2 separate regions of the Homo sapiens genome follow, and region 1 is linked to region 2. Evidence: promoter capture Hi-C in 16 types of primary human blood cells and fetal thymus (Javierre and others, 2016). All regions are on one chromosome and are shown on one strand. Each heading gives the region's core, a stretch centred on a gene start or on the middle of the fragment in contact. The rest is flanking DNA. Distances are from core to core; before and after follow the strand shown.

Region 1 (3,178 bases), core at 679-3,178, 1.1 Mb before region 2:
GAAATTATAGGAAGACAGATTTTTAGTTCAGTGAGAGGAAATACCTTTAGTGAACTAAAGAAGGAATGAGCTATCTTAAGACATGATGGGCTCCCCAAGACTAGAAGTATTTATTTAAACAGAACCATGACGACCTTAGGGGACCTGGGACCAAGTGCTAGACGGGTGTGGAGGTGGCTGACCGAGGGTCCTTGCTGCCCCTTAAAGTCAAGGAGTTTAAGGCAGCCTTTCCTTTCTTTCAAGTGGCTCCTCAAAGGGAGCCATTATCTGCAGCTACTGTCTCAGTTTTATGTAAAGAGTATTTATCATTTGGGAATTTCCCCTCCCCATATAATACTTTTGACTCCTGAATGCATGCAAAAGAGCTGTAAGAAACTTTCTGGTGCTAAATGAGAAAATGTGTGAACATAAATGAGCTAGTTTAACTAAAAGTTCACCAAAATGTATTTTAAACATCAGGCTCTTAAAAACTCAATAGTTTGAAATTTGCATTTTAATCAGCGTTTGGCTAACAATATGAGATAAACTATTAGAGAAGTGTAGGTCATTCTGGCAAATAGAAAGTTCCATCATTTCACACTTAGAAAGCTGCCACGAAGAGCTTATTCTTGGAGTATAAAATGCAGAATTTAGGTTAAGCCAGTCATTTTGTAGATGAAATTGTACACTGGCAATTTCTTATGGTTCAACCTAATAGTAAAACATTTATAAACAATTGTATCATTACAAATACATTTAGACATCGTTTTCTGCTAAACTCAGTATTTTCCTTTCCATCCTGATCAAAGAAACATTATTGCAGTAAGCCACATTATAATTCAGCACGATTTCTTCTAAAAAGGCTCCGAGTTCCTTTGAGCTTGTTATTGTACAGTGGATTTTTCATTTGCAAAGACGTTAAGCCCTCCAAATGTGCAAATCATGAAGTCAGTTGTTGTTCCAGCAAGGTTTGCCCAGCGGTAAAAAACAAGATAAAACTAATGCACTAGCTGAAACCAGGTGGGGAGACCATGTGTGGTAGTGCTTGGGGGTGGAGGGAAACTATTTCTGAAATGAGGACTTAAAGTATAATACCAGCTTCACTGCCTGTTCACGAGAAACCAAAGCTTCAATTTAACTGCAGGCAATAGGAGTTTCACACTGTCAGCACCAACTGTCTAAAATCCAAAACTAGTATCTAAATGTGTAGGATCAAAACCAAAAATCTGGAGGGATCTAGTTAAACTTCAATATGCATGACCCCAGATTCCCCTTTAAAATATAGTCCAAGTATTTTATCTTTTCCATAGGGCATTGACATTATTGTGTTAATGTGAAATAGCTATTTACCTCTCCAAACCTCGGCTTTATAGAATAGATAATTATCACATCCTGTAGGAGAGCCATTTGAAAAGACAGCCTTGTTTACAGACAGGAGAAGTTACAGAATTTAAAACTGTTAGAAAATTGGGGGACTATGGGGCTGGGCGCGGTGGCTCACGCCTGTAATCCCAGCACTTTGGGAGGCAGAGGAGGGTGGATCAGGAGGTCAAGAGTTCGAGACCAGGCTGGCAAACATGGCAAAATCCTGTCTCTACTAAAAATACAAAAATTAGCCGGGCGTGGTGGCGGGCGCCTGTAATCCCAGCTACTCAGGAGGCTGAGGCAGGAGAATTGCTGAAACCCAGGAGCTGGATGTTGCAGTGAGCCGAGATGGCGCCATTACACTCCAGCCTGGGCAACAGTCAGACTGTCTCAAAAAAAAAGGAAAATTGGGTGACTATCGAGGATTCCCCTCTCCCATTTGTTAAAAAAAATTAACAAAATTTAGGCCCTCAGACTTTATGCATTCATACTCAAAATAAATGCACTAAAAATCAAGGAGCAGTAAGGGCACCAAGAAAGAGCAGTTTGATCTATTTTATAATTAAAACAGGCTCGAGTTCAAGCTACTTGCCCAGCACCTTTTGGGACATGGGAAAAAAACAAAGACCTCTACCATATCCCACATTCTCTAAACTGAGAACCATCTCAAACATCAAGTCTACATATATCACTCTGACCAAGTGGATTTTTACATCAATCTTCCCCTGCTGAGGTTCAGAGCTGTCAAATCCCAACTGAGGCCGGGCACAGTGGCTCACGCCTGTAATCCCAGCACTTTGGGAGACTGAGGCAGGCGGATCACCTGAGGTCACGAGTTCAAGATCAGCCTGGCTAACATGGTGAAACCCCATCTCTACTAAAAAATACAAAAATTAACCGGGCATGGTGGCGAGAGCCTGTAATCCCAGCTGCTCTAGAGGCTGAGGCAGAGAGAATTGCTTGAACCTGGGAGGTGGAGGTTGCAGTGAGCTGAGATCGCCACCACTGCACTCCAACCTGGGCGACAGATTGAGACGTCTCCCATCTGACTTAATTCCCTCATCAACTGATTGCCAGTGTTGTATGGACAGGCTTGGTCTGGATAGACTTGTCTTCCCACTGCTATTTCCAGCCGGGCAAAAGAACCACTTCCATTCTCTTAGAGCTTTCGATACCACAGTAAATAACCTGGTATCTTGCTGGGGCAGTTTTCCACCCATATTAAACTACATCTGCCCCATTTTGACTACTAGAAAATGTATCAAAGAGGCTGTCCAATTTGTCTGAGATGAGATGGCTGAAGTTCTTAGCCAAATAATGGCCAAAGCTCAAAACAGATCTATTTGATACAAATTCGTTCTTTGACACACAAGGAAACAGATGTCAAGAGTTGTTTCCACCCAGTATCAAGCTTCCTCCCCTCCTCTCTCAGGAGGCTGAACACACATTCCTAGTCACTAATGTGCTATGAACTGAATAGCAGTGAATCCACTTAAATTAACTCATGCTGGTACAGAGTCCTCTCCATATAGGCACAGGACTTAACATTTATCATTTAGCCATTCTTTCAAAGATAATTCAAACGTTACAGATTTCTCCATATTCCTGTTAATGTAGAAACATATTCCCTTTACTTTTGGAATCAAAGACCAACTTCCATATGTGACAATGACTATAATGTAAGAAAACTGATTTTCACAAGTGTCTTGTACAAATAAGCTACTGCAGCAGTTTATAGAGATAGTTGGGTGAGACAAGGGCCCTGAGTACACAAATTTATAATGGCTGAGTGGTCATTCCACACTGTCACTGCATTACAGAAAAAAACTGGATG
Region 2 (3,267 bases), core at 65-2,564:
GACGCATGAACAGGAGCAAAATCTCTGCTCTCAACAGTGGAAAAGTAAAAAACAGCCTACGGCTCATTACATCTGGTCAAACCATGTGGAGGCAGCAGTTTATCAAATAAGTCAACAAGGTACCATTTTGTTTTCTGGTCCATCTTTGGCAAATGCTTTAGTCTGTTTGCTAACCATTTGAAGGTATATTTTGATACTGAAAAGTTGTTGGCTGGGCATGGTGGCTCACGTCTGTAATCCCAGAACTTTGGCAGACTAAGCTGGGCCGATCATGAGGTCAGGAGTTCGAGACCAGCCCGCCCAACACGATGAAACCCCATCTCTACTAAAAATACAAAAAATTAGCCAGGCGTGGGGGCGTGCGCCTGTAATCCCAGCTACTAGGGAGGTTGAGGCAGAAGAATCGCTTGAACCCAGGAGGCGGAGGTTCCAGTGAGCCGAGATCACACCACTGCACTCCTGCACTCCAGCCTGGTGACAGAACTAGACTTTGTCTCAAAAAAAAAAAAAAGTTGTTATGCAGATTACTAGCTCCCCTTGAAAGCAAAATGAAGGAGGCTTCAAAGGCAGGACCCTCCAGGAATTGGTTCTGCATAGGGGGTTTGCAAGTGGTGGTGCATGGGCAGCTGACCTAGAAGACACGGGGCAGCTACAAGCCAAACCCAGCCCAGCACAGAGGGCCTAAGGAGAAGAAGGCACCAAGGGTGTTCCATGGTAGGGGGAGGGTGAAAGGACTTCAGAGGTGACCAGGATGTGAGCCACTAGAAGGAGAGAACAGGGCCATCAGCCCACAACCCATTGCTCCTGGTAACACGTTATGTTTGCAGAGTCCAGTGGAGGGGACGGGGAATCAATACATCACCCCACATTCACACGCTTGCCAAACATCAGTGGATGGCGAAATCCACTTTCCCTGAATCTAAGCCCATCGGGTTCACTCCCTCACCTACCACCACCCACAAAGGTCCCTATGTAGTTCGAGAGATAAGTGCCAGGCCTCTGACCCCCAGGATATGGTGGGAAGCATTGCTCCTGACCCAGGGAGCTTGGTTCCTGCCCCTCAGGTACAGCTGGAGAGCTGCCGCCACCCCGCTCCAGCCCCTCACCATGAAGGTCAACTCCCCTATCCTTCCCCCACATCCTGGATGACTGACTGACACTAAATGAAAGGGCGGGGCAGGGTGATGGGCTGTACCTGTGCCCCACCCCATTCCTCTCGCCTGGACTCATATGGCAGGGTAGGGGCGGGGTGGGGGGACAGTTGGGAGGGACCTTGAGGGCTTTATAAGGCAGGCCTGGAGCATCAAGCAGAGCAGAGACCTGAGAGGCACCAGGCCCAGCCGTGGCACCACACACCTCCCAGCTCTGCAGGTGAGAAAACCCAGGAGGAGAGGGGAGAGGCTAGGAAGTGGGTTGACAGGTCCTCTCCCCCATCAAGGTACCAGGCCACTGGCCAGAGTCTGGGGCTCACCCCTTGGGGTCTCCAGAGCTGGGACCCTTTCTTTATCCCAGGATGGAACTAGGTCTTGGCTCCAGTACCTACCCTGGTATTCCCAACCTTGCCTTCCACCTGCCCTTCTGCCGCAGCCGGGGCCCTGCCCTTAGCCTATCCCTTCACACTCTTCCCAGCCCTGGGAGGTGAGGAGGACTGGGGTTCTTCTCCTTTCTCTCAGACAAGAAAACTGAGGCCCAGAGGCAAGATGTGACTTGCCCAAAGTCACAGGGATTATTAGGCAAGGCTGGGATAGGAATCCACAGCTCCTGGATCCCACTTCAAGCCCTTTCCTAGACCAGTGCCATCCAAAAGAACGTCCTATGATGCAGGAAATGGTCTTCATCTGCACTGTTCAATATGGTAGCCACTAGCCACGTGTGCGCTTGAAATGGGGTTAGTGTAAGGAAGTTTTTGTTGTTGTTGTTGTTTGTTTTTTTATATAGAGTCTCGCCGTGTCACCCAGGCTGGAGTGCAGTGACATGCAACCTCTGCCTCCCAGGTTCAAGCAATTCTCCTGACTCAGCCTCCCGAGTAGCCGGGATTACAGGCGCCTGCCACAACACCCAGCTAATTTTTCATATTTTTGGTAGAGACAGAGTTTCACCATGTTGGCCAGGCTGGTCACAAACTCCTGACCTCAAGTGATCCAACCCCCTCAGCCTCCCAAAGTGCTGGGATTACAGGCGTGAGCCACTGCACCTGACCATAATTTTTTAATTTAATTAATTTAAATGTAAAGAGCCACATGTGGCTGGTGGCTATAGCACTGAACAACACATGTGGTTAGCATCTGACAATACAGCTCCAGATCACTGATTTTTCAAACATTTCTTCAGCAGCAGAATTCTTTTCTTCCAAAGAAAACCTAACAGAAAACCTGATTATGAAAAACTTAATGGCCAGGCACCGTGGCTCATGCCTGTGATCACAACACTTTGGGAGGCTGAAGCAAGCAGATTGCTTGAGCTCAGGAGTTCCAGACCAGCCTGGGCAACATAGTGAGACCTCATCTCTACTAAAAATAAAAACAAAAAAATTAGCTGGGCATAGTAGTGCACACTTGTAGTCCCAACTACTCAGGAGGCTGAGGTGGGAGGATCTCTTGAGCCCAAGAGGTCGAGGCTGCAGCGAGTCAGGATCACGCCAGCCACTGCATTCCAGCCTGGGAGACAGAGCAAGATTCTGTCTCACAAAAAGAAAAGAAAAAAAGAAAAACTTAAAAGCAGTACAGTATTTTATTAATACAAATGTATTCTGACAAGAGAAAATTTTTATCATTTTCTTATGATAAAGCCAATCAGAATAGTGAGACCAAAAGCATACAAAAATAGTGAGTCCAGGGAATAGATGAGCATTTGAATTTTATGTTTGTTTGAGATTCCAGTTTAGTTCTGTATTATGTTTTCCCCAAACTTGATTCACCCTGATACATAATTGCTAATGGTGACAGCTTAATTTTTTCTTAACTGCTTCATTATAATCACAGGATATTCCTCAGTTAAGCAAAAATGACAGGAGAACCTTTCCTCTCAGGGCTGCACAAAAATCAGTGTGAGCTGGCCAAGCATTGAATGTGCTGCAGTCTCCAAAGTGATAACATGCGGTCTGTAACACAGCTGGATGTCCATGTTCCTTTGGTATTACTATTTAAAAGTTTCACTTTTTGTTTTTGTTTTTTTGAGACAGGGTCTCACTCTGTCGCCCAGGCTGGAGAGCAGTGGTGCAATCTCGGCTCACTGCAACCTCCACCTCCCCGGTTCAAGCGATCCTCC

What was found. The method cuts DNA at HindIII sites, captures the fragments that hold promoters and counts their contacts. A CHiCAGO score of 5 or more calls a contact.
Region 1: a contact is called between a fragment that was not itself captured here and the fragment with the promoter of GAST in region 2, in 1 of 17 cell types (M2 macrophages). The highest score is 5.7, in M2 macrophages.

The regions. Positions count from the first base shown.
Region 1 is chr17:40,624,487-40,627,664 of GRCh38, forward strand. It overlaps SMARCE1 (SWI/SNF related BAF chromatin remodeling complex subunit E1), which reads right to left. Exons shown (of 11, transcript NM_003079.5): 11 at 476-3,178. Among named protein-coding and RNA genes, the nearest start is that of SMARCE1, 22 kb to the right of the region's middle. The HindIII fragment of the contact is 1,649 bases long and covers 1,105-2,753 here.
Region 2 is chr17:41,711,017-41,714,283 of GRCh38, forward strand. GAST (gastrin) reads left to right here and starts at 1,315. Exons shown (of 3, transcript NM_000805.5): 1 at 1,315-1,371. The HindIII fragment of the contact is 7,695 bases long and covers 1-3,267 here.